7 separate regions of the Homo sapiens genome follow, and all the other regions are linked to region 1. Evidence: promoter capture Hi-C in 16 types of primary human blood cells and fetal thymus (Javierre and others, 2016). All regions are on one chromosome and are shown on one strand. Each heading gives the region's core, a stretch centred on a gene start or on the middle of the fragment in contact. The rest is flanking DNA. Distances are from core to core; before and after follow the strand shown.

The links. Contacts are between HindIII fragments. The CHiCAGO score rates a contact against its expected background, and 5 or more counts as called.
Region 2: a contact is called between a fragment that was not itself captured here and the fragment with the promoter of BDP1 in region 1, in 4 of 17 cell types (naive CD8 T cells, naive CD4 T cells, total CD4 T cells and 1 more). The highest score is 6.0, in naive CD8 T cells.
Region 3: a contact is called between a fragment that was not itself captured here and the fragment with the promoter of BDP1 in region 1, in 2 of 17 cell types (total CD4 T cells and naive B cells). The highest score is 8.0, in total CD4 T cells.
Region 4: a contact is called between a fragment that was not itself captured here and the fragment with the promoter of BDP1 in region 1, in 2 of 17 cell types (naive CD4 T cells and total CD4 T cells). The highest score is 5.8, in naive CD4 T cells.
Region 5: a contact is called between the fragment with the promoter of TAF9 here and the fragment with the promoter of BDP1 in region 1, in 10 of 17 cell types (naive CD4 T cells, total CD8 T cells, non-activated CD4 T cells and 7 more). The highest score is 18.2, in naive CD4 T cells.
Region 6: a contact is called between a fragment that was not itself captured here and the fragment with the promoter of BDP1 in region 1, in 2 of 17 cell types (naive CD4 T cells and M1 macrophages). The highest score is 5.8, in naive CD4 T cells.
Region 7: a contact is called between a fragment that was not itself captured here and the fragment with the promoter of BDP1 in region 1, in 1 of 17 cell types (naive B cells). The highest score is 5.3, in naive B cells.

What each region holds. Positions count from the first base shown.
Region 1 is chr5:71,453,221-71,456,964 of GRCh38, forward strand. It overlaps BDP1 (BDP1 general transcription factor IIIB subunit), which reads left to right and starts at 2,431. Exons shown (of 39, transcript NM_018429.3): 1 at 2,431-2,869. The coding sequence starts at 2,658. RefSeq lists enhancers at 1,366-2,292, 2,293-3,218. The HindIII fragment of the contact is 8,261 bases long and covers 1-3,744 here.
Region 2 is chr5:69,390,909-69,394,601 of GRCh38, forward strand. It overlaps RAD17 (RAD17 checkpoint clamp loader component), which reads left to right. Exons shown (of 19, transcript NM_133338.3): 13 at 923-1,105; 14 at 2,247-2,332; 15 at 2,446-2,592. Among named protein-coding and RNA genes, the nearest start is that of MARVELD2, 22 kb to the right of the region's middle. The HindIII fragment of the contact is 2,925 bases long and covers 1-2,749 here.
Region 3 is chr5:69,251,677-69,255,606 of GRCh38, forward strand. CDK7 (cyclin dependent kinase 7) reads left to right here. Exons shown (of 12, transcript NM_001799.4): 3 at 742-775; 4 at 2,926-2,993; 5 at 3,784-3,852. Among named protein-coding and RNA genes, the nearest start is that of CDK7, 19 kb to the left of the region's middle. The HindIII fragment of the contact is 554 bases long and covers 1,448-2,001 here.
Region 4 is chr5:69,213,022-69,217,138 of GRCh38, forward strand. No RefSeq gene overlaps it. Among named protein-coding and RNA genes, the nearest start is that of KGD4, 2.7 kb to the right of the region's middle. The HindIII fragment of the contact is 3,043 bases long and covers 750-3,792 here.
Region 5 is chr5:69,367,415-69,370,769 of GRCh38, forward strand. It overlaps TAF9 (TATA-box binding protein associated factor 9), which reads right to left and starts at 2,106. Exons shown (of 3, transcript NM_003187.5): 1 at 2,049-2,106. It overlaps AK6 (adenylate kinase 6), which reads right to left and starts at 2,106. Exons shown (of 5, transcript NM_016283.5): 1 at 2,049-2,106. The coding sequence starts at 2,076. It overlaps RAD17 (RAD17 checkpoint clamp loader component), which reads left to right and starts at 2,404. Exons shown (of 19, transcript NM_133338.3): 1 at 2,404-2,519. RefSeq lists an enhancer at 2,658-3,207. The HindIII fragment of the contact is 4,867 bases long and covers 1-2,587 here.
Region 6 is chr5:69,346,930-69,350,715 of GRCh38, forward strand. It overlaps the pseudogene NDUFB9P1. Among named protein-coding and RNA genes, the nearest start is that of CCDC125, 16 kb to the left of the region's middle. The HindIII fragment of the contact is 3,012 bases long and covers 452-3,463 here.
Region 7 is chr5:69,285,362-69,289,551 of GRCh38, forward strand. It overlaps CCDC125 (coiled-coil domain containing 125), which reads right to left. Exons shown (of 12, transcript NM_176816.5): 11 at 1-106. Among named protein-coding and RNA genes, the nearest start is that of CCDC125, 45 kb to the right of the region's middle. The HindIII fragment of the contact is 4,874 bases long and covers 1-4,190 here.

The DNA.
Region 1 (3,744 bases), core at 1,181-3,680:
TCGAATTCTTGAGCTTCTTTAAATAAAGAAGATAAAACTGAGATACTGTTCCTTTTCCAGAGTATTGCAGGGAGCCCACGGAATCCACAGACCTCCTCTTTTCTCTTCCTTCCTTCCTTCCTTTCTTTCTCTCTCTCTTTTTTTTTTTTTTTTTGAGACAGGGTCTCACTTTGTCACCCAGGCTGTAGTGCTGTGGTGTGATCTTGGCTCACTGCAACTTCCGCCTCCTGGGCTCAAGCAATCCTCCAACCTCAGCCTCCTGAGTAGCTGGGATTACAGGCAGAAGCCACCATGCTCAGCTAATTTTTGTAATTTTGGTAGAGATGAGGTTTCACCATGTTGGCTAGGCTGGTCTTAAACTCCTAGGCTCAAGTGATTCGCCTGCCTCAACCTCCCAAAGTGCTGGGATTACAGGCACGAGCTGTGCCTGGCCTCCAGACCTTCATTTTCTTCATAGTCTTAGAGATATATGTTTTCTCTTCTCTGCTTTCAGTCTTGCCTTCCTACTCTCAAAAGCACTTGCCTCTTTTTTGTTCTCCCTTTAGGTGATCAATTTCTTCAGTCAGTTCAGAATTTTATTCCTTTGACCTTTTGTTATTAATGTATCACCATATTCTTGTAGGATTTTCTTTTCCTTCTAAGAAGAAAGTCAGGCCTTTGTGTTCCCATGAGTCAGGGGATTTGTATCACTGGTTCAAACATTGGCCCAATACCTCCAAGGCCAACCTCAGCTCTGGCTATTTTTCCTCTCATCATAGAGGACTTCCCTAGCCACTCTACTGCCAGCCTCCCTCCCATTACTTTCTATCACATCATCCTGTACATTTCTCTCTTTTTTTTCTTCTTATTATTAAATTTTTGTTTTAAGGACAAGGTTTCACTTTGTCACCCATGCTGGAGGGCAGTGGCACTATCATAGCTCACTGCAGCCTGGACCTCCTGCCTCAGCCTTCCAGGTAGCTGGAGCTAGAGGTGGGAGCCATCACAGCCACCGCATGTAGGTAATTTGTTTTAGGGGTCTCAATATTTTGAGCAGGTTGGTCTGGAAGTCTTGGGCTCAAGAGATCCTCCCACTTCAGTCTCCACAGTAGCTGGGATTATAGGCGTGCCTCGCCATACCCGGCATTCAACCCTTAAATTTATTTCATGACATTTGATATACTTTATTTTATTGCAATTAATTAATTAATTCATTTATTTTAAGACAGAGTCTCACTCATTCTGTTGCCTAGGCTAGAGTGCAGTGGTGCCATCTTGGCTCCCGGCAGCCTCCACCTCCAGGGTTCAAGCCATTCTCCTGTCTCAGCCTCCCATAGCTGGGATTACAGGCTTGCACCACCAGGCCTGGCTCATTTTTGTATTTTTAGTAGAGATGGAGTTTAACCATGTTGGCCAGGCTGGTCTCGAACTCCTGACCTCAAGCAATCTGCCTTGCCTTAGCCTCCTAAAATGCTGGGATTACAGGCATGAGGCACCCACGCCGGGCCTGATACATTTTAAAAATATCTTGTTCATTTCTTTTTTGTATTTTCTCCTCCCAAATCCAGAACGTCTTGTTTACTGCTACCTCCTGAAGCAGATTAAGAACACTCACAATAATTTACAAGGTTTCAACTATAATAATTTTTAAACAGGCTGGAGTGTAGTGGTACGATCTCGGGTGATACATTCATATTAAAAAGTACACAAGGAGGTTGGGCGTGGTGGCTCACGTCTGTAATCCCAGCACTTTGGGAGGCCAAATGGGTGGCTCGCTTGAGCCTAGGAGTTCAAGATCAGCCTAAGCAACATGATGAACCCCGTCTCTACTAAATATACGAGAAAAAAAAAATTAGCCGGGTGTCGTGGCGCGTGCCTGTGGTCCCAGCAACTTGGGAGGCTGTGACGGGAGGATCGCCTGAGCCCGAGAGGTGGAGGCTGCAGTGAGCCAAGATCGCGCAACTGCACACTCCAGCCTAGGCGACAGAGCAAGACCCTGTCTCAAAGGACAAAAACAAAAAAGTACACAAAGGCGTACGGTAAATGGTCTTCCTACCACGACGTGTTTTCCAGAAACACATTCCTCTCCTGGGAGGTAACTATTATCAGTTTCTTCACACCAGCATTTTTAATCTATGTCTACTCAATTTAGAATTTCTAAACCCTTCAGGATCTTCAAAAGACAAAATCGGCCAGCGATTTTAATAGTTCCAGTAAAGGTTTGAGCAGAGAAGTGGACTTTCTTCTGTTCCTCTTTTCAACTACTCCTAAGGACTCCTGGAGAAGAAAGAGCAAATATCTCTGCATCTCAATTTCTGGTCCGCAGGTAACCCAGTCTCAGTAGCTTGGTAGTTACCATGGCTCCCAGTGCTGTGCGTCTGACGTCATTCTGCGGCGCTGGCTGATGGCGCAATCAGTTGCGGCGTCCTGTGAGCGCGGGGATGCTGGGAGGAGGGTGAAATTTAGCCATCGGTGTGTGGCAGGGTCATGAAAAAGCGGCGGCGGCGGGAGAGAGGAGGAGGCGGCGGCGGGGCAGTGAAACTACGGTAGCTGCCCCCTGAGCTGGTGGTGTGGCTTTGTGGGGAGGGCGTAGTTCCTAATCCCCTTTCCGGGCAGCCGCCGGGGCTCGGGGCTGTGAGCGGCCGTGAGGCTGCCTCCCCGGGCCCCCTGCCTCCGCCATGTTCCGCAGGGCACGCCTTAGCGTGAAGCCGAATGTCAGGCCTGGTGTAGGCGCCAGGGGCTCCACAGCTTCCAATCCCCAGCGTGGACGGGAGTCTCCCAGGCCGCCGGATCCTGCCACGGACTCTGCTTCCAAGCCCGCGGAGCCCACAGATGTGCCCACAGTCGATTTCGGTGGAGCGGAGCCCCAAGAAAAGGCTCCTAGGAGCAGGTAAGAGGTTGCAGAGGGAAGAATTTTCATTTGTCCCGCCTCTCCGGGCATGTCACCTGGAAGCTGAGCAAATGAATTTTATCACAGGAGTCCGCTCTCGTTTGCAGTAAGCCTTTCAGTTGAGGCTTGATGAAACCACTCCAAACTGCAGTTTAGTTGTCTGACCTGCAGGGTGTGGCTTGTGTGGATTTTGTCACGGTCTATAGATTCTCCGAGAGGAGACCATGTCTTCAAGTGGTGGTAGGGAGAATCGGGGTATGGCAGTCCTGAAGTGAAGAATATCCACACTATTCATTTGAGAATTTAGGTCACTATAGTTTTCATCCTTCTGGAGTGCTTTGCAGGGAAGTGTTTTTGTCTTTCAATTTATAAAATATTTATTTTTTAAAGGAGAAGATAAGTATTGCTTTGGCTTTACCGATTTATGTCAGTGAGTAAGAGTTCTGGTCACTTAATTGAAGTGTGCCTCTTTAACTATGGTGACCGTGTTTCCTGAATAGAGAAGCATGGCTTTAGCGTCATGTATCATATTTGGATTCAGGACTCTTTTAGTCTACAGGTAAACTTTTCTCAGGCAGAATTTGCTCATCTGCAAAATGGGAATAATATTGCCTACTTGGAGCGTTTTGGTGCAGATTGGAGATAATTCATATTAACTACCTTGCAGGGGATATAGCAGAATAGTTGCCCGCAAAAAGTTACTAGTTTTTTAGAAAGGTGATGGAGTAAATTTAAGACATGTTAGGCTAAGATGGTCTCTGTTTCTATATATATGAGGAAATCAGTAAACAGCCTTGTTAAGTGAAGTGAGATAGTACAAATTCTGTTTATGCTGTGATAGGAAGGTGAAACATTTATTTATTTTTGGAACATCT
Region 2 (3,693 bases), core at 37-2,536, 2.1 Mb before region 1:
TGCCACTGTACTCCAGCCTGGGTGATAGAGCCAGACCCTGTGTCAAAAAAAAAAAAAGGCCGGGCATGGTGGCTCATGCCTGTAATCCCAGCACTTGGGGAGGCCAATTTGTGTGGTTGGGAGGTTGTGACCAGCCTGGCCAACATGGTGAAACCTCATCTCTGCTAAAAATACAAAAATTTAGCCGGGCATACACCTGTAATTCTAGCTGCTCGGGAGGCTGAGGCAGGAGAATCGCTTGAACCCAGGAGGCAGAGGTTGTGGTGAGCCGAGATCACACCACTGCACTCCAGCCTGGGCAACAGAGCGAGACTCCATCTCAAAAAAAAAAAAAAAAAATTCTCCCTTCACAGGGTTGTTATGAAGATTAAATTCCTATGTATTACATGCCAAGAACAGTATCTTGCACATAACACGATGAGAAACCAAGGCGATGTGACTGTACAGGTTGAATATCCTTTATTTGCAATTTTTGGGAATAGAAGGATTGCAGATTTTTTTAAGATTTTGGAATATTTGCATTATACGAATTGAAAATCCCTTGTCTGAAAATCTGAAATACAAAGTGCTCCAATGAGCATTTCCTTTGAGCATCATGTTGGCACTGCAAGTTTCATATTTTGGAGTATTTTGGAGTTTGAATTTTTTGGATCAGGAATGTCAGCCTATATTAGAGATTGTGCTATTGTGCATGTGAAAGTTTGAAATCTGCATTATGAAATAACTTTCAGATAATACTTTATTCCATTTTAATGTTAGTAACCCAAAGAGGATTCCAACTCAGTTAATGTCATTTATAATTTTTGTTTATTAGGAAAACAAATTGTAATTAGAATATTTAGTGTAACTATATCTGAAGTGTTCTTAGTTTTAATTTTCATATTTTAATTTAAATATTGTCACTTGGATGTATATTATTCAGGAGAAAACAACTTACGGCCAAGGAAAAAAGGAATGTCTTTAAAATCAGATGCTGTGCTGTCAAAATCAAAACGAAGAAAAAAACCTGATAGGGTTTTTGAAAATCAAGAGGTCCAAGCTATTGGTGGCAAAGATGTTTCTCTGTTTCTCTTCAGAGCTTTGGGGAAAATTCTATATTGTAAAAGTAAGAAATTTTTACACTTTTAAAATCTGTTGGATATCACATAGTCTTAAAATGGAAATAAAATGTCACTTTTAAAAAAATGTCATGTATTTTGGTTCTGCTCTAAGAGTTAGAGCTAGGTCAGATACTGTTTGCCTAGGCCTAAGACATAGTAGGAAATCAGAATATTTTCTGACCGTAAGCAGGATTAAAAGTAAAAACATGCAATTGCAGGCCATATCCATGTGTGTAAATCTTTAAAATTATAGTTTGCTGAAGGTAAGAGAGCAGATCATCTAGACTTGTAGTGGCAAGTGTTGGTAGCCTAAAGCCCTCTTAACACTGGGCTCCAGCCAACAGAGCCTTATACAAATTACCAGGTAGTTTAAGGTTTCTTTCAATCGTCTTGTATTTCTCTAATTTACAAGCGTTCTGTCTCCCCAACCAGAGATGTTTATCGCCTTTTCTGTCTTTTTTGATGACTGCTCCCCCTCAGTTCTTTCACTCCCTATTGCCCATTTTAGTGTCCCAAATAATCCCTCCTTTTGATAGCAAATGCCTGTTTTCAGTCTGATGACCCTAAAGGAAAGAAATTAGGATTTCTAAATGGAAACCTTCATACCATCTGAGGAAAATGGGCATCACTTAGGTGGCAGTGAGGACACTCCTCTGTCACTGGATCCTCTTACTTTGAACCTGAGTGACTATTCCCACCTGATTCTTTTCTTTCTCTCCTTTCTTTTCCTCCCCAACATACGTTTATCGTCTCTTGCATTAGTGAATGGAATTCGTATTCTTTCATGTAGAGAGCAACATCTTCCTACATAGTAAATAAAAGAGTAAAGACCACTGTATTGAGATGAGAAATCAAGGGAAGAAAGCAACCCAAAGCTGAAAAAGGTGAAATGGGAGTGCATTAGGAAATGGAATATTTTAAGTCTAGAGAAGCCATAATCTAAGCATCAGAATTGTTAATTTAGTTCTTGCTAATGTGGAAAAAATAGGTGCTTGCTTCCAGTTGTTTTTTATTTATTTATTATTTTTTAACAGTTTGTTACTATGTTGGTATTGTATGTCTAAAATTTTCAAACTCTTCAAATGAGAGGTGCTATATAATTATAAAGAAGGTATTATCTTTAATAATTCCAGAAATTTTTTATAGGAGCATCTTTAACAGAATTAGACTCACCTCGGTTGCCCTCTCATTTATCAGAATATGAACGGGATACATTACTTGTTGAACCTGAGGTAAGTTCTTTGATGACACTTAGTATAGGTTACAAAGGATATATTATTCGTGTGCATATATATTTGACCATTGCATTTTTACCAAATTTATGTATATATGCTTCTTTTTATAGGAGGTAGTAGAAATGTCACACATGCCTGGAGACTTATTTAATTTATATCTTCACCAAAACTACATAGATTTCTTCATGGAAATTGATGATATTGTGAGAGCCAGTGAATTTCTGAGTTTTGCAGATATCCTCAGTGGTGACTGGAATGTAAGACCATTTGACTTAAAATGTTTATGTTTATAGTATTTCCTTAGAATTAAGAAAAGAAAGTTTACTTTTATCCCTAATTGCCTGACATTATTTTATGTGACTTTTCTTCATAACTATGCTAAAGTTAATGTAACCAACTCAGTGTTTATAATGAAGCTTCAGTAGCAAATCTGATTTTTCTGCTGATAATATAGCACCAATTGTTTCTAAAGTTATTTTCTTTTTTTCTTTTTTTTCTGTGTGTGTGTGTAGAGACAGGGTCTTACTGTGTTGCTCAGGCTGGTCTCAAACTCCTGGGCTCAGACAGTCCTCTCACCTGAGCCTCCGAAAGTGCTGGGATTACAAGCGTGAGCCACCACACTCCTGTCTCTAAATTTTCTGATTTTGTGTTTTGTGTTATGGTGGTTTTTTTTTTTTTTTTTTTTTTTGAGAAGAGGCTCTATCTACAGCTATGTTACCCAGTCTGGTCTTGAACTACTGGGTTTAGGGAATCCTGTCCTCTCTGCCTTCGAAGTAGCTAGAAATACAGGCACACACCACCATGCCCAGCTTATTTTTTTTTTTTTTTCGAGACAGCGTCTTACTTTTTTGCCCACGCTGGAGTCCAGTGGTACAAACATGGTTCACTGCAACCTTGACCTTCTGGGCTCAAGCGATCCTCCAACCTCAGGCACTCCCCATCTAGTAGCTGGGACTACAGGCAAGCACCACTATCCTTAGCTAATTTTTTTTTCTTTGTTTTAGAGACAGGGTTCACCATGTTACCCATGCTGGTCTCCAACTCCTGAGCTCAAGCGATCTGCCTGCCCTGGCCTCTCAAAAGTGCTGGGATTACAGGAGTGAGCCACCATGCCCAGCCCCAGCTTATTTTCTGATTTTAAAATTAATACATACTCAAAATATGACAACCATTAAGAAGTAGATACAAGAGAAAGAACTGTACATGTTGCTACACTTTCTGCTAGTTTTTAAAATTTATTTCTTTTACATATTTGAAACTATTTACCATAAAATTTGTATTTTGTTCTTAACATCTTAACACTGCCCTTACCAGTACAACAGCCACCAACCACATGTAGCTATTTACATTTAAATTTA
Region 3 (3,930 bases), core at 475-2,974, 2.2 Mb before region 1:
CGTGCCACCACTCCTGGCTAATTTTTAAAAATGTTGAGTAGACACAAGGTCTTGCTATGTTGCCCAGGCTGGTCTTAAACTCCTGGGATCAAGCGATCCTCCCACCTTGGCCTGTCAAAGTGTTGGAATTTACAAGTGTGAGCCACTACACCCCGCCAGTCTTTTCTTGATTACTGACAGTTTTCTAAAAAGCAGTGAGAGAATGTTCTTTACCCAGGTAATTTATTTTGTGTAAGACTAAACCTGTTAATGTAATTTGTTATGTTTATTCAGAGTAACAACATTTTAACCATCACAATTTGTAATTTTGCTTTTTGAAAAATGTGGTGTCTAAGAGCATATTATTGGGCTTATTACCAACTCTACAGCATGTTATTTTCTGTATCTTTCCTCCCAAGTAGCCTAATTTGAAGTTACGTATTTATTTTTAATCAGGGTACCCTTAGTTATTTGGTCCACATTGAACCTTGAAAAGGTAAAATAGATTTTTCTTAATTTTATTATTTGAATGTGTAGTTCAGAAACTTAAGGGACAAGGGTAGGTATTTGATTCTCTCTTATATTGTTAATTTTATCTTTCTGATCATGATTCCTACTCTCTTTTTGCCTAGTAGGTACATATTGGTTGCTAATTGTTTTTTTTTCTGTGGCGAAGTATTTGAAGTATTTACACATTATTCATTGATTCTAAATAATTTAACACATTTTTAATATATTTGGGTTTTTTTCCGTTTCTACCAGATCAAACTTGGACATAGATCAGAAGCTAAAGATGGTAAGTATTTCATGTAATCTGACAGATAGGAAAAGTTTTCTCCTTTTTTTTTTTTTTTTTTTTTTTTTTTTTTAAAAAGACAGGGTCTTGCTCTGTCACCCAGGCTGGAGTACTGAGACACAATCGTAGCTCACTGCAGCCTCAAACTTAGGTACTCAAGCAGTTCTCCCACCTCAGCCTCTTGAGTAGCTAGGGCTGTAAACATGTGCCACCACTTGTGGTTAATGTTTTATTTTTTGTAGAGATGAGGTCTGGCTGTGTTGCTCAGGCTTCTCTCAAACTCCTGGCCTCAAGCTATCCTCCCACCTCGGCCTCCCAAAGTGCTGGGATTACAGGCTTGAGCCACCATGCCCAGCATAAAGTTTTCATTCTCACTGAAGAAACGAGCAAAGTATGAATTAATAAGTTAGTAATGGTTCTGGATAGAGTTACTGCAGGGTCCCCGAAGAGTAAAGATAGACTCAGCATAGAGAAGGAGTATTTGGTGATTTTTACTTACTGGATATTCAGAGAAACATTCCAAATCACCCACATAAATGGAAGGCAGCAAGCTTAATTAGTTTGTCTTTCTGTCTTCATTACTGTTTTAGGTGTTACAAGCCATTGTTTTTTCTGTTTCTGAGTTTCTAATTACTTTGAAAATTCAGGATACATTTTCATGAAAGTACATAAAGCTTACTATGGAATAGATACATGAGGAAATTATTTCATTAAACTTTCTTCCAAAGTCTTATTTATTAGGATTCATCATAAAATAGCTCTTACAAAAGAGACCCATTGTCTGTGTAAGTGCCAATACTATATCTTATTTTTATTTTGTTTATTTTTTTTGAGACAGAGTCATGCTCTGTTGCCCAGGCTGGAGTGCAGTATCGCAATCTCGGCTCACTGCAACCTCTACCTCCCGGGTTCAAGCGATTCTCCTGCCTCAGCTTCCTGAGTAGCTAGGATTACAGGTGCACACCACCATGCCCAGCCAATTTTTTGTATTTTTAGTAGAGATGGGGTTTTGCCACCTTGGCCAGGCTGGTCTCGATCTCCTGGCCTCAAGTGATCTGCCCACCTAGGCCTCCCAAAGTGCTGGGATTACGAGCCACCGCGCCCGGCCTGTATCTAATTTTTAATTTTGAAATCTGTCATTTGTATTGGAAAATATACTATCTTATCACTAGTTTGCTTTTAGCACAAACAATATGCCACTAATATTTGTAGGGCAAGAGTAGGGAAGCTTATCACCTATATGCTGCACACTTATATATGTTGTTAGTCTAGTAGTGGTGTTCAGATCCTGGTATAGATAAGGTGAAATATTTTTCACCATTTGTCGTAGTCTTTGTTAAGCTATTTTAAAAGTAAAGCAATATTGGCCTGGTGCCATGGCTTACGCCTGTAATCCCAGCACTTTGGGAGGGTGAGGTGGGTAGATCGCCTGAGCTCAGGAGTTCGAAACCAGCCTGGCCAATATGGCAAAACCCCATCTCTAACGAAAATACAAAAAATTAGCCAGGCGTGGAGGTGCACACCTGTGGTCCCAGCTACTCGGGAGGCTGAGGTGGGAAAATTACTTGAGTCTGGGAGGTGGAGGCTGCTGTGAGCCGAGATCATGCCACTGCACTCCAACCTGGCTGACAGGGTGAAACCCCATCTCAAAAAAAATAAATAAATAAAAATAAAGCAATGTAAAAGAACAACAGATTTGACATAAAAATTGTCAAAGTAGCCCTTATTTTTGTGGGTAATGTTCACTATTTTCTGAGATTACTAACCTTTCTTTAAAAATATGTGTTTGTGGCTGGGTGTGGTGGCTCACGCCTGTAATCCCAGCACTTCAGGAGGCCAAAGCGGGTGGATCACGAGGTCAGGAGTTGGAGACCAGCCTGATGAACATGGTGAAACCCCGCCTTTACTAAAAATACAAAAATTAGCCGGGCGTGGTGGCGCGTGCCTGTAATCCCTGCTACTCTGGAGGCTGAGGCAGGAGAATTGCTTGAACCCGGGAAGCAGAGGTTGCAGTGAGCCGAGATCACGCCACTACACTCTAGCCTGGGCGACAGAGCGAGACTCCATCTCAAAAAAAAAAAAAAAAAAGAAGTGTTTGTAAGGTTTGAGATTTCAGAATTATTCACTTTTTGCTTTGCCTTTTTATATAGGTATAAATAGAACCGCCTTAAGAGAGATAAAATTATTACAGGAGCTAAGTCATCCAAATATAATTGGTGTGAGTATGATCAAAACTGTTACTGGGATTTGGGACTCTGCCTTTTCTTAATATAATGGATGTTGATTAAAGGCTCAGCAAGATGACTTGTTCTGGATGAGCCTTGTAGAAGCTTAAAGGAAATACATTTTCTATCCCAGTTGTTTTGGTAGGCATTGTCTTCAAAACTATACCACTGATTAAATAAATGAAATATTGACATGTAGGCTAATTTTGTCGGAAATAATTTTGAAGTCTAGGGAGCTCTAGCATGTAGTGGCTGAGAGTGTCAACCTGAATTCAAAACCTTTCTTTCTGCCTGTGTGAGACCTTGAGTGTGTTCACTCACAACTCCCCAGAGTCCCTGCCTCATAGGGAAGTTGTGAGACTAGCCAATTGAATAGATGTAAAGTATCTGGAATAGTGCCTACCATAGAAAATGTATTCATTCATTCAATGATAGCTGCTGTTATTTAGAGGATTTCTTAAGAATCACATTTGGGACTTTTCTTTTGAATTGGAGACTGGAATGAGGTTTTCATTGGTTAATTTCTTAATTCTAACTCCAAATATTTGGGGAAAGAGGTTGGGTATTTTTTTAAGTAAAATTTAATATTTTTATGCTTCAAAATACTAATTCCTTTAGTACTGTCCAAAAAAGGACAAATGTCAAATTTAATCAAATGATTTAAGCTTTATAGGGAATTACCAACAGTTTAAATGCTTTTTAAATTTTTAAAAATTGCCTCAGTTGCTATGATACTGTCAGGTATTAAATAGTGAATCACATTTTAATTTTTTAACTTTGCAGCTCCTTGATGCTTTTGGACATAAATCTAATATTAGCCTTGTCTTTGATTTTATGGAAACTGATCTAGAGGTAAGATTAAGATTCCTGGAGAAATTCCTTTGTCCCAGTTTATCAAACAAGAACCTAAATATTTGTTTTCTACCCAAG
Region 4 (4,117 bases), core at 1,021-3,520, 2.2 Mb before region 1:
CGTATCACTAACAAACTCAGTGATCTGGGCATGGTGGTATGTGCCTGTAGTCCCAGCTGCTCAGGAGGCTGGGGCAGAAGAACTGCTTGAACTGGGGAGTTTGAGGCTGCAATGAGCTATAATGGTGCCAGTGTGCTCCAGCCTGGGTGACAGAGACCCTGTCTCAAAACAAAAACAAAAACTGGGTGCGGTGGCTCACGCCTATAATCCCAGCACTTTTGGGAGGCTGAGGCAGGCAGATCATGAGGTCTGGAGATTGAGACCATCCTGGCTAATACGGTGAAACCTTGTCTGTACTAAAAATACAAAAAATTAGCTGGGTGTGGTGGCGGGCGCCTGTAGTACCAGCTACTCCAGAGGCTGAGGCAGGAGAATGGCGTGAATCCGGGAGGCGGAGCTTGCAGTGAGCCGAGATCGTGCCACTGCACTCCAGCCTGGGTGACAGCGAGACTCCATCTCAAAAAACCTCAGTGGTAGTTGTCTGCTATCTAAGGCTAACAATAAAAGGCTGTTACAGAGCTGTATGGCAGGGCCACCCCTGTATGGAGGGCAGACTCCAGACCTGTAGAGCCATCAGCATGCAATACTTGCCTGAGAGAGCCCAGGTACCTCTCTTCAACTGCTGAGAGCTGCTGGGTTGGAACTGTGCCCATCAAAACCATGGGGTAGGGCTGCCCCGGGGCTTTGGGGGTCCAACCCCCAGCCCAATGCATCCTGAAGGCAAGATACTGAGTCAAGAATTATTCTCAAGCTTCAAGAGTTAATGTTGTTGGCCTTTTGGGTTTTTAACTTACTTGGGACCTATTACTCCTTTCTTCTTGCCTATTTCTCCCTCTTGGAATGGGAATGTCAGTCCTGTTCCTGACCCATCATTGTGTTTTGGAAGCACATGTATTTGATTTCACAGGCTCACAGCTGCAGGAGAAGTTGCCTCAGGATGAGTCATGGCCTTGAGTCTCATCCATATCTGATTTAGGTGAGACTCTGGACTTTATAGTTTTGAGTTGGTGCTGGAATGAGTTGAGACTTTTGGGGCTACTGGGATGGATAAATGTATTTTTGGGTTTTTTTTGTTTGTCTTTTGAGACAGTGTTTCCCTTTGTCCCCCAGGCTGAAGTGCAGTGGTACGATCTTGGCTCACTGTGAACAACTTCCGCCTCCCAGGTTCAAGCAATTCTCATGCCTCGGCTTCCAAGTAGCTGGGATTATAGGCATACACCACCACGCTCAGCTAATTTTTTTTATTTTTAGTAGAGACAGGGTTTCACCGTGTTGGCCAGGCTGGCCTGGAATTCGTGACCTCAAGTGATCCGTCTGCCTCAGCCTCCCAAAGTGCTGGGATTACAGGTGTGAGCAACAAGCGTCCGATAAATGTATTTTGCATGTGAGTAGGACATAAATTTGGGGGGCCAAAGGCGGTAAGCTATGGTCTGACTGTGTCCTTCAAAATTCATCTATTGAAAATTGCTAATGTGACAATACGAAAAGGTATTGGAAATGATTAAATCATGAGTACAGAACCATCATGGATGAGATTAAGGCCCTTAAAAAAAGGTTTGAGGGCCAGGCACAATGGCTCACACCTGTAATCCCAGCATTTTGGGCGGCCAAAGTGGGCCGATCACCTGAGGTCAGGAGTTCAAAGCCAGCCTGTCCAACATGGCAAAACCCCATCTCTACTAAAAATACAAAAATTAGCTGGGTGTGGTAGAGGGCGCCTGTAATCCCAGCTACTTGGGAGGCTGCAACAGGAGAATCGCTTGAACCCAGGAGATGGAGGTTGCAGTGAGCCGAGATTGTGCCACTGCACTCCAGCCTGGGTGACAGAACAAGACTGTCTCAAAAAAAAAAAAAAAAAAAGTTTGAGGGAATGGGTTCCTTCTCTTCTGCCCTTCTGCCATGTGAGCACACAGTGTTAAACCCCTCGGATGAAGCAGTGTTCAAAGCACCATCTTGGAAGAAAAGACTGAGCCCTCACAAAACACCGAAACTGCTGGTACTTTGATCTTAGACTTTTGAGCCTCCTGAACATGAGAAATAAATTTCTGTGGTTATAAATTACCCATACTAAGGTATTTTGTTACAGTAGCACACATGGACTAACAGAGGAGCTAATCAACATTTATAGAATACTCCACCAAACAACAGCAGAACACTCTTTTCAAGTGCTTACAGAACATAAACAACATAGACCATATCCTGGATGACAAAATATCAACAAATATAAAAGAATTGAAATTATACAGACTGTGTTCTGACTACAAGGGAATCAAATGAGGAATCAGTAACAGTCAGATAACAGGAAAATTTCCAAATACTTGGAAACTGAACACACTTTTAAATGAGGCATAGGTCAAAGGAGTCTCAAATGAAAATTTTCTAAAAAGCATTGAACTGGGCCAGGTGCGGTGGCTCACACCTGTAATCCCAGCACTTTGGGAGGCCAAGGTGGGCGGATCACCTGAGGTCAGGAGTTTGAGATCATTCTGGCCAACACGGAGAAACCCTGTCTCTACTAAAAATACAAAAATTAGCTGGGCGTGGTGGTGGGCACCTGTAATCCCAGCCACTCAGGAGGATGAGGCAGGAGAATCAGTTGAACCCAGGAGGCAGAGGTTGCATTGAGCTGAGATCATGCCACTGCATCCAGCCTGGGTGTCACAGCGAGACTCTGTCTCAAAAAAAAAAAAAAATTATCGGCTGGGCACGGTGGCTCACACCTGTAATCCCAGCACTTTGGGAGGCTGAGGCGGGCAGATCACGAGGTCAGGAGATGGAGACTATCCTGGCTAACACAGTGAAACCCTGTCTCTACTAAAAATACAAAAAAAATTAGCCTGGTGTGGTGGCGGGTGCCTGTAGTCCCAGCTACCTGGGAGGCTGAGGTGGGAGAATGGTGTGAACCAGGGAGGCGGAGCTTGCAGTGAGCCGAGTTGGCACCACTGCACTCCAGCCTGGGTGACAGAGCAAGACTCTGTCTCAAAAAAAAAAAGAATTACCACAGATGAATGGATAAGCAAAATGTGGTATACACATATAATGGGATTTTTTCAGCCTTAAAAAAGAAATTCTGACACATTCTACAACATGAATGAACTCTGAAGACATGCTAAGTGAAACAAGCTAATTACAAAAGGACAAATACTGTTATGGCTCCACGTACATTAAGTACCCACAGTAGTCAAATTCATAGACAGAAAGTAAAATGATAGTTGTCAGAGGCTGAGGGAAGGAGGAATAAGTTTTTGTTTAATGGGTACAGTTTCTGAAGATGGTAACAATTGCCCAACAATGTGAATGTACTTAATGTGACTGAACTGCACATTTGAAAATAATTAAAATGGGGCCAGGCGCAGTGGCTCACGCCTGTAATACCAGCACTTAGGGAGGCTGAGGTGGGTGGATCACTTGAGGCCAGGAGTTGGAGATTAGTCTGGCCAATATGGTGAAACTCTGTCTCTACCAAAAATACAAAAATTAGCCAGGCGTGGTGGCGGGCGTCTGTAATCCCAGCTACTGGGGAGGCTGAGGCTGGAGAATTGCTTGAATCCAGGAGGCAAAGGTTGCAGTGACCTGAGATCACGCCACAGCACTCCAGGCTGGGCAACAGAGCGAGACTCCGTCTCAAAAAAAAAAAAAAAAACCACAAAAACAAAACAAAACAAAACGGGTTAATGGCCTCTCTGTAGTCACTGAATCCCAATAGACCATACCTGGGTTCAGTAATTTATATTTCTAAAAAGATCCCAAGACTTAGAAATCACTGATGTATATCATCAAACACATTGGTCAAGCTTACAATACTATATATAACCTAAGCATTATCACAGAACGTAATGTAACTTTTTTTTTTTTTGAGACGGAGTCTCCCTCTGTCGCTCAGGCCGGAGTGCAGTGGCACACTCTCGGCTTACTGCAACCTCTGCCTTCTGGGTTCAAGCAATTCTCCTGCCTCACCTCCTGAGTAGCTGGGACTACAGGCGCCCGCCACCACGCCCGGCTAATTTTTGTATTTTTAGTAGAGACAGGGTTTTACAATGTTGGCCAGTCTGGTGTCGAACTCCTGACCTCAAGTGATCCGCCCGCCTCAGCCTCCCAAAGTGCTGGCATTACAGGC
Region 5 (3,355 bases), core at 856-3,355, 2.1 Mb before region 1:
CAGGAGAATCCCTTGAACCAGGTAGTTGTAGGATGCAGTGAGCCAAGATCGCGCCACAGCACTCCAGCCTGGCGACAGAGACTCCATCTCAAAAAAAAAAAAAAAAAAATTAGCCACCTCGAATCAATTACAATAATTTATTTACCTTTTTCTTTTTTTAAAGACAAGATATCTCTTTGTTACCTAGGCTGGAGTGCAGTGGAACTTGGCTCACTAGAGCCTTTACCTCCTGGGCTCAAGCAATCCTCCCATCTCAGCCTGTCCGGTAGCTAGGACCACAGGTATGCACCACCATGCCCTGGTTAATTTTTGTAGAGACGGGGTTTGGCTATGTTGCTTAGGCTAAGCTCAAACTCCTGAGCTCAAGCGATCTCCCCACCTCCACCTCCCAAAGTGCTGGGATTTACAGGCATGAGCCACCCACCTGGCCTATTTGCTTTAACTTATAAAGATTTAAAAACTGTTCATGGCCACGTGTGGTGGCTCGCGCGTGTAATCCCAGCAATTTGGGAGGAGAAGGCGGGAGGATCGCTTAAGCGCAGGAGTTCGAGACCAGCCTGGCCAACATAATGAGACTCTGTCTCAAACAAAAACAAAAACAAGAACAAAAACAAAACTGTTCATGTTAAAATTAAGCAGTCTGAAAATTACCTCTACTGACCCCTTGCGCCCTTCCCTAGAGATAACCACTGTAAACCAGTTTCCTTTCCCAAAGAAACCCTATTTATGTTTGCATGTAAATGTACATATATGTACATACTCTTTGTTATATAAATACAACACATATTCCCTTTTACATAAATGACAATACTATATACATTGTTCTTTACCTTCCCCTTCTGATACCTATTAAAATTACATTTCAAGATCATCAAATTCATAATTTTCAGCTATTCAGATTTAACATCCCTGAAATTAAACTTAAGCATAAAGATAACAGGGATAATCCAGTTCCCATACCCAGGAGAATAACGGTCACCTCAAGTCCACTATAATACACCAAGTCTGAACCCTGGACTCAACATGTTTTCAATAAAATGTTCACTTTAAAGTTTTGACAATGACTTAATAACCAGGGCACTATGTTTGATCCATGCAAAAAGATGTAAAATCTTCCGCTTAAGGAATCTAAAATTCTAAACGTTATTTGTGGGGTGGTTAATCTGCACCTCTCAGAAACAGACATGTCTTGTGCGCTGCCAACAATTTTACCTTTGGGTGAATGATGTAACTTTACTGTTCCCACAAAGAGTCTTAATTTTTCTGTACCTTGCAATAAAATCTACATGCATTAGATTTTTCCACGAATGGCCTACAATTTGATAAACACTTTCAGGACTAAACGGCTAGCAAAAATATTCGTTAAAGTCGTTATGCAGCATTTTAATTCCCTTCACTGATAACATGCACCCTGAGTATGGCTTCAAAGACCCACTCCTACGCGAGAAACGACCCGAAATGCTCTATATGCCTTCCTTTTAAGGGGCGGGGGGATCCTTTGATGTAACTCAACAAAAGCATACAGCAATTTCGTCACGTCACAAACATCTGAACTCGTTTACCGAAATCTAATCTGAGGCGTTTATCAGAAGCAAAGAAAAAATAAAATACGGCCCACGGAGGCCTAAGGAGTGAGGCATCCACCATTAATGACTCTACCGGGAAGCAGATATGGCCTTACGTTATTTCGCTAAAAATCCCAAGGCCAACCCTGCCAAAGAATCAACAACCCATTTTACAAACGAAATACCAGATTCAGAAAGACTAAGCAGGTTGCCAAGCTGGAGAGCTGGATCTGCCGACCTCTCTCCACCCCCCCCCGCCCCCCCCCGGAGCCTCAGGCCAACGGAATTAACGTTCCGCGTCCCCTCCCTCGCCTCCCGCAACGCCCGCGAGGGTCGGCTCCCGGGGCGCTGACAACCGCCTCGTGGCCCTCGGCCGGCCTCTGAAGAGGGCAGTGAGGGGCCCCCACCTGGGCGCCCGATGCCCAGAGCACTCTGCGCCCCCAGCCTGCCCCAGCCCAGTCCCTCCCGGCCGCGCGCCCTGACCGGTGAGCAGGATGTTCGGAAGCAACATGGTCCCCGCCGCGACGGCTTCGGGCGCCTCGCTCACGTGCCCTTTGCTCTACAGGGAGGAGCCGGAAGGGGCGGGCGGCAGCAAAAGCCCACGGCCCCAAAGGCCCCGAAGCCCACCGCGGCGCCCCTAGCCTGCCCCGGCGGCCCAGCCGCGGCCCACTGGTTACCTGGCTTTCGATGACACATTTCCGTCGCAAAGTTGGAGGGTGGGCATAACTCGGGTCGGTACTTCGGGTCAGGCAGTGCGCTGGATGCCTAAGTCACACACTCCTTCGGTGGTCCCCGCCCTTCGCTTGCGCCGACCAGTCTGGAAGGTCCCCGGGAGGCCGTACCTCCGAGAGGCTCGGCGTTGAGCCCGGGTAGGGCCAGGTGGCTGCCCTTTCACCTAGGGTAGTCCCTGGTCGCCTCCGCTCTTCGCCTAAAAGGGGATGCAGCTCCGGGAAAGTAAGGCCGCCGCGGTTGCGGCTATATTATGTATATGTCTTAGAGACGTGAGTCTATCTCTGCCTTCAAGCTTTCCTGGGCTCTCGTCGCTCCTCCTCCCGACCCGCCCATCCCATCTGGGGATGAGAAGATTGAGGGTGCAGAGCCCTGTCCTGCAGCGGGGATTTGCGAGCTCAACCCGGCACCCCACTGATTACAGGATTACGTTGGACGAATATTTGAGCTTAGTATTCCCTGTTCACTGTGTGGGGTGGTGGTGGGTCGGCTAGGAATAGTCTTGAAGGTCTACCTCTGACATCTCATTTCAGTAACCTCGCATCTTCAGGGACAGTTATCTGCTTTTTAAAGGAGGTAATTGTCAATCTTGTTTTCAAGAGTGAATAGAGACCTGACCGTGACAACAGTCTGCACCTTTTTTTGTTTGTTTGTTTGTTTTTGTTTTGTTTTGAGACGGAGTCTCACTCTTGTCGCCCAGGCTGGAGTGCAACCTCCGCCTCCTGGGTTCAAGTGATTCTCCTGCCTTAGCCTCCAGAGTAGCTGGGATTACAGGCGCCCACCACCACGCCCGGCTAATTTTTGCATTTTTAATAGAGACGGGGTTTCACCATGTTTTGGCCAGGCTGGTCTCAAACTCCTGACCTCAGATGATCCGCCCGCCTCGTCCTCCCACGGTGCTGGGATTACAGGCATGAGCCACCGCGTCCGGCCCCTGGTCTGCATCTTTTATTTCGAGCTACAAACTATATTTACTCAAATAGGTGTTTTTTTTCCACCTGTATACCTTTTGAAACGTCACAGTCTCTAATCGTGAACGATTTGGGGCGGAGGGCTGAACA
Region 6 (3,786 bases), core at 708-3,207, 2.1 Mb before region 1:
CCTTTTTGAAAATTTTAAGATGGTGTCTCACTCTGTCACCCAGGCTGGAGTGTAGTGGTGCGATCTCAGCTCACTGCAACCTCGAGTTCCTGGGTGTAAGCGCTTCTCCCGCTTCAGTCTCCTGAGTAGCTGGGATTACAGGCACATGCCACCACACTCAGCTAATTTTGTTGGTTTTTCTTTTTTCTTTTCTTTTCTTTTTTTTGTGATGCAGCCTCATCTGTTGCCCACGTTGTAGTGCAGTGGCATGAACCACTGGCCTAATTTTTGTATCTTTTGTACAGGCAGGGTTTCACTAGCTACTTGGGAGGCTGAAGTCAGAGGATCACTTGAGCCCAGGAGGTCGAGGCTGCAGTGAGCTATGATGGTGCCACAGCATTCCAGCCTGGGTGACATGGCAAGAGCCTGTCTCAAAAAAAAAAAAGAAAAAAAATTAGTCTACTAAATGTTAAGCTTGCGTACAATTTGTCTTTGGGAATTTACTCAACAGATAAACTTGCTCATATGCATAACGCATATGCATTAGGGAACACAACTTAGTGAGTGAAAGCCTGCCTAAGATAGAACACTGAAGCTAATACTTTTTAGCTATTATCTTGGATAAGCCACTTAACTCTTCTGTGCCTTGGTTCCTGTAATGGAAATAATAATAACATCTACCTCAGAGAGTGGTCATGTGGATAAAGAATTCACTTTTGAAATGTGTTTAGAAGTTTATGTCATAGTAATATATTTACTCTTTATTATTCTTGCATCATTGTAATAGTAAAAAGCTGGAAACAGCCTAAATGTCCATTAGTGAGAGGACTGATTAAATCAAACTTGGCATGTCTTTTTTTTTGAGACAAGTTCTCACTCTGTCCGCCCAGGATGGAGTGCAGTGGCTCAATCACAGCTCACTGCAGCCTCGACCTCCTCAGGCTCAGGTGATCCTCCTGCGTCAGCCTCCTGAGTAGCTGGGACTATAGGTGCATGCCACCACTCTGGGCTATTATTTTATTTTTATTTATTTATTCATTTTTTTGGAGACAGTGTCTCACTCTGTTGCCCAGGCTGGAATGCAGTGGCACAATCTGAGCTCACTCCAACCTCCGCTGCCTGAGTTAAAGCGATTCTCCTGCCTCGGCCTCCGGAGTAGCTGGGATTACAGGCATGCACCACCATGCCTGGCTAGTTTTTGTATTTTTGGTAGAGACGAGATTTCACCATGTTGGCCAGGCTGGTCTCGAACTCCTAATCTCAAGTGATCCACCTGCCTTGGCCTCCTAAAGTGCTGGGATTACAGGCATGAGCCACTATGCCCAGCCTCTTTTTTCTTTTTTTTAAATAGAGACGAGGTCTCACTATGTTGCCCAGGCTGGTCTCGAACTTCTGAGCTCAAGTGATCCTCCCACCTAGGCCTCCCAAAGTGCTGAGATTACAGGAGTGAGCCACCATGCCTGACCTATTTTTTTTTTTTTTGCGACAGAGTGTGGCCCAGCCTGGAGTGCAGAGGCACTATCTCGGCTCACTGCAAGCTCTGCCTCCCGGGTTCATGCCATTCTCCTGCCTCAGCCTCCCGAGTAGCTGGGACTACAGGTGCCTGCCATCACGCCTGGCTAATTTTTTGTATTTTTAGTAGAGACGGGGTTTCACCGTGTTAGCCAGGATGGTCTCAATCTCCTGACTTCGTGATCTGCCTGCCTCGACCTCCCAAAGTGCTGGGATTACAGGCGTGAGCCTCCGCGCCCGGCCTGGCCTATTTACTTAATTAATTAATTTATTTATTTATTTTTAGGAACAGTGTTTCACCATGTCGGCCAGGTTGGTCTCAAACTCCTGGGCTTAAGTCATCCGCCCGCCTTGGCCTCCCAAAGTCCTAGGATTACAAGTGTGAGCCACAGTGCCTGGGTACTTGGCATATCATTAATGGCTTTTTTTTTTTTTTTTTTTTTTTGAGATGGGAGTTTCACTCTTATTGCCCAGGATGGAGTGCAATGGTGCAATCTCGGCTCATTGCAACCTCCACCTCCTCGGTTCAAGCGATTCTCCTGCCTCAGCCTCTCAAGTAGCTGAGATTACAGGCACCCACCACCACGCCCGGCTAATTTTTGTATTTTAGTAGAAACAAGGATTCACCATGTTGGTTAGGCTGGTCTCAAACTCCTGACCTCAGGTGATCCACCCACCTCGGCCTCCCAAAGTGTTGGGATTACAGGCATGAGCCACTGGGCCTAGCCTCATTAATGCCATTTTATGCAAACATTAAAAAGATGAGGGATCCAAAGAAGATAAACCAATAGGCACATGAAAAGATGCTCATCATAAATCATTAGAGAAATGTAAATCAAAACCAAAATGTGATATACTACTCACCCACTAGTATAGTTATAATAAAAAAGATGGGAGTTGCCAGGCAAGGTGGCTCACGCCTGCAATCCCAGCACTTTGGGAGGCTGAGGCGGGCAGATTACCTGAGGTTGGGAGTTCGAGGGAGAAACTCTGTCTTTACTAAAAATACAAAATCAGCCGGGTATGGTGGTGCATGCCTGTAATCCCAGCTACTTGGGAGATTGAGGCAAGAGAATCGCTTGAACCTGGGAGGTGGAGGTTGAACCCTTGAACCTGCAGTGAGCTGAGATCACGCCATTGCACTCCAGCCTGGGCAACAAGAGTGAGACTGCCTCAAAAAAAAAAAAAAAAAAAAAAAAAAAAAGGCCAGGCGCGGTGGCTCACGCCTCTAATCCCAGCACTCTGGGAGGCCAAGGTGGGCAGATCACGAGGTCAGGAGATCGAGACCATCCTGCCTGACATGGTGAAACCCCGTCTCTACTAAAAATACAAAAATTAGCCGGGCGTGGTGGCAGGCGCCTGTAGTCCCAGCTACTTGGGAGACTGAGACAGGAGAATGGCGTGAACTCGGGAGGTGGAGCTTGCAGTGAGCCGAGATTGCACCACTGCACTCCAGCCTGGGCGACAGAGCAAGACTCCGTCTCAAAAAAAAAAAAAGATGGGATCAAGCAGTCATGGTGTTCTCGATGCTGGAGGGCCTACTTGACCTATCACCAGAAGGTGTTGCTGCTTTGTAACCAGGCGCTGTACCACCTCAAGCCATGGTGCATCCAGAGATAAATAATGGTATATTTTGCCTGTTTGATGAGAGCCTGGTTTGAAGAGCATAGGAAAAAAAAAAAGGGTATGATGGAGGCTACCCCACTGCTGAGGGAGGCAGAGGAATTCTGGTATCGTCAGCATTCACAGCCATTCTCTTCCCTGACTCTCTGGGGGTACTTCCTATGAGAGATACGAGTGATATGCTACAAGTCTCTGGAGTGGTGCTTAGATGACTGGAATCCTTCTGAGAAGGCAATGTACCCTGATTACTTAGCCAAGAGAGAGCAGTGGAAGAAACTGCTGAGGCAAAGCCAGGAGTGAGAGGTTAAGCAGCTGCAGGAGGAAATCCCAACTGGTGGTCTAGGACTGAAGCTTTGCCCCCTGTGGTGGTATATTGTGACCAGACCCCGGGAGTGGCCCATGTAGAGAGACAGACCTCACCCTGTCATGCCTGCAAGTGAAGTAAGTTACAGAACATACACACACACTTAGCCTAATAAAAATCGCTGAAATGGTAAAAATCAACAAATATAGACCGTAACAAGTGTTAGCAAGAATGTGAAGAAACTGAGTCCCTAATACATTGATGGTGGGAACATAAAATGCTGCAACCACTTTGGAAACCAGTTTGGCATTTCCTCAAAAAGTTAAACATGGTTGCCCTATGACCCAGCAATTCCCCTCCCAGGTATA
Region 7 (4,190 bases), core at 1,118-3,617, 2.2 Mb before region 1:
TCTTGAGGACTGTCCTGGTCTTCCATCCTCTTAGAACTGTTTTCTGAAGGGAGCATACCCAACAGTCTCTGCCCGAAGGTCTTCTTACTCCTTGGTGATGGAAATCCTAAAATTGAACATGAGAATCCAGCTGAGACATTAAAATATCCTCACTGATATACTTCCAGCAAAAGAGGTAACTTGATCTCTAGGACAAGTGAGTCCAGGAGCACACAGTGGAATGTAGTGAGCAGAGCACAGCCTTCAGAGCCAGGAGCAATGCAGGTGAGAGGCAGCAAGAGTGCCGCCCTGCCATGCGGCACAGCCACCCCTCTGTGCCAGCTGACACACAGGCCACACAAGAACACAGTCCATGTCACTGGATCATCACAGTCTTCAAGAGCAGCCAGAAATGCAGATCTGTCATGACATCTTCCAATTCTAAATGTCAGCCACTAGTCTTATTGTTTGACTACACTAAGCCAACCTAACAAAACATGTCTGCAGGCCACAGGGGGCCTCTGAGCCATGCAAACTCTGCTTCCGAACAGCAAAGACCTGGACTTGAATCCTCATTCAGCCACTTACTAACTGTATGACCTCGGGTGACTTTTCTCAGCTTGATTTCCTCATCTCTAAAATGAGAATAGCATTACCTTCTTCTCAGGGAACTGTGCCATTAAATAATAAATCACACGGGCTGGAGAAGGGGAAGTGAGGAGTTACTGTTTCATGGGACAGGGTCTCTGTAAAGAAAGATGAAAATGTTCTGGAGCTGGATGGTGATGAAGGTTACATTACAATGTGAATATACTTAATACCACTTAAAAACAGTTCAAATGGTAAACTATATATATATATATATATATATATATATATATATATATATATATAATTTTTTTTTTTTTTTAGATGGAGTCTTGTTCTGTCACCCAGGCTGGAGTGCAGTGGCGCAATCTCGGCTCACTGCAAGCTCCGCCTCCCGGGTTCGCGCCATTCTCCTGCCTCAGCCTCCCGAGTAGCTGGGACTACAGGCGCCCGCCACCACGTCCGGCTAATTTTTTTGTATTTTTAGTAGAGATGGGGTTTCACTGTGTTAGCCAGGATGGTCTCGATCTCCTGACCTCATGATTCGCCCCCTCTTGGCCTCCCAAAATGCTGGGATTACAGGCGTGAGCCACCGCGCCCGGCCAACTTTAGATATATTTTACCACCATCACGACAACAACAAAAAATACCACAATTGTCAAAGGCCCTGCTCAGGTATTAGCATAATATTTAATATTTCACGTGCTGACATCATTGATGTCCTTCTTCATCCATTGAAGGAAAGTAATTTGCAGAAGTTATAAAATCTCAGATTGTACAAGGAAAATTTCAAGAATGTTTTTGGAATATTCTCCAAAAGTGGTTTAGTGGGAAACTGAGAGCAGATGAGGGGAGATCCCCTTCCCACCAATCCTGACAGACCACAGTGACGAGGGCGGCCCTGACCCCTTCCACGAGGAGCTGTGGCAAACAGAAGTCAGAGAAACTGACACTTTGATGAGTAGATGAATCTGTGTCCCTATTTTCAGTCTAAAAAAAGAAATAGCTTGGTGTGATGGCTCAAGCTGGTAGTCTGGAGGATTGCTTAAGCCCAGGAGTTTAAGATAAAAAAAAAAAAAAAAAAACCCAAAAGCAAAAATACAAAGAAAGAAAGAAGTATGCCTATAAACTACTTCCGGAAACTTGTCTAAACTGCCATATCAAAAAGAAAGTTGATATTAAGTGTTACTAAACATAAAATAATCTGTATCACCCTGTACCTCTTAAGATTACTGAAATATACTAATAAAATGAATTAAAGTCTTGTCACTGAGAAACTGAGAAAGAACTACTCAAACTTGTATAGATTTATAAAAGCTGTGCGAGATTAATCAATTTTTTTTTTTTTTTTTGAGATGGAGTCTCGCTTTTGTCGCCCAGGCTGGAGTGCAACAGCGCAATCTTGGCTCACCACAACCTCTGCCTCCCGGGTTCAAACATTTCTCCTGCCTCAGCCTCCCGAGTAGCTGGGATTACAGGCTTGTGCCACCACACCCAGCCAATTTTGTATTTTTAGTAGAGACAGGGTTTCTCCATGTTGGTCAGGCTGGTCTCAAATTCCCGACCTCAAGTGATCCACCCACCTCAGCCTCCCAAAGTCCTGAGATTACAGGCGTGCCACTGCACCCGGCCATCAGTTTTTGGTGGTTTTTTTTTTTTGAGACAGGGTCTTGCTCCATCACCCAGGCTGGACTGCAGTGGTGGGATCATGACTCACTGCAGCCTCAGCCTCCCAGGCTCAAGCGATCCTCCCACTTCAGCCTCCCTAGTAGCTGAGACCACAGGTATCTACCACCACACTTGGCTATTTTTTTTTTTTTAATAGAGACAGGGTCTCCCTATGTTGCCCAGCCTGGTCTCAAACTCCTGAGCTCAAGCAATCCTCCTGCCTCAGCCTCCCAAAGCGCTGGGATTACAGGCATGAGCCACTGTGCCCTGCCTATATCAATTATTTAAAATTCTGCCTTCAGTCTCTCTCAGTGCCTTACTGGAACTCAGAGATTGGGAGCTATACCCCTCTGAATTGCATTTTTTGTGGGAATCTTCCTTAGATTTGTCAATAGCTGAATGTGATATTGTAATATAAGAAATATATATTTGGTCTTTGCCCTCAGTTCCTGACATAGAGCTCCTAAAATCCTAGTAGATAGGGGTGTTAGGTGAATCTTTTCTCATAGTTGGTCTTTGACCCCAGTTCCTAACACACAATTCTTAAGACTGTAATTTCCTCAGTGCTAGGAGCATCTGACACAGAGCCCCTAAATCCCTTGGAATTTCCTGGGTAATAGAAGCATCTTTTGTTCTAATGAGGCTCTTGATGGGCTCCTGGATAGCCTCAGGATGGGGGCTGGTTGCCAGGGGAACCAATCTTGTGATTAGAAAGCTGGAACTTTCAGCCCTAGCCCCCAAACTCCAGGGAAGCGAGAGGGGCTGAAGGTTGAGTTGATTACCAATGGCCAATGATGTAATCACCAATGGCCAGTGATGTACCGTGTCCATGTAATGAAGCCTCCATAAAAACCCAAAAGGGTCTGGGGAGCTTCCAGATAGCTGAGCATGTGAGGTTCCTGAGGGGTGGTACGCCAAAGAGAGCATCCCTTCCCACGTGCCTTGCCCTGTCCATCTCTTTATCTGGCTGTTCATCTGCATCCTTTGTAAGATCCTTTATAATAAACTGGTAAACGGAAGTGTTTCCCGGAGTTCTGTGAGGCATCCTAGCAAATCAATGGAGCCTGAGGAGGGCGTCATGGGAGTCCCAATGTACATACAGCCAGTCAGTCAGGAGCAGCAGAGACAACTCTGTGCTTTTGACTGGCATTTGGAGTGCAGGCCATCTTGTGGGACTGAGCCTTTAACTTATGGGATCTGACTCTAACTCCAGGTAGACAGTGTGAGAATTGAGGGAAATGATAGGATACCCAGCTGGTGTGTGGGGAATCCCCCACCCCTAGCATCTGGTGTCAGAAGCGCTGAGCTGAGTGGTAAGTGCTGTGTGAATAGGAAAACACTTTGGTTTCCCCTGTCTCTTACACTGTGGAAGGTAGGAATTATGGAACATCAAATGCACATATTCTCAAGTGCTGAAATGAGTATGAATCTAGCTCTTGAGAAAAATGCAGCTTTGTCTACACTGCACTATCCTAATGGCCAAGCTCCACACAGGGTTGCAGGCCTTGCAGGCAGGTGACAGGGTCTGACAGGCATTCGTAAGATTAAGATTACTTTAACCCTGACTTTCCCCTTCGTCTCTTCTTTTTCCCATCACTTTTCTTTCCACCTCTATCAAAACAAACAAATATTTACAATCTGACTTTCTAAGAAGATCTGCCTTCAATTAGCACAAAACACCAGGGCTGTCCTCAAAGAGGATTTTACAATCCAACTGCTATTAAGGGCTTAGCTGAGAGAGGAGGTGTCTGAGGAAGATTATCTACACATAGCTGTGGTCCGTGGTAGAACCAGGTATTCTTAGTGTTTTCCACTGGTTCCTAAAAGGCTAAATACATGGACCATGTTAGCTTTTTCCCTGGCAAAATCACCTAACCTGGATTGAACATTAAAGTTGTACCTTCAGCTTTTATGAAGAGTTTATTATAGAAAATGACCATATTATCTAAATACAT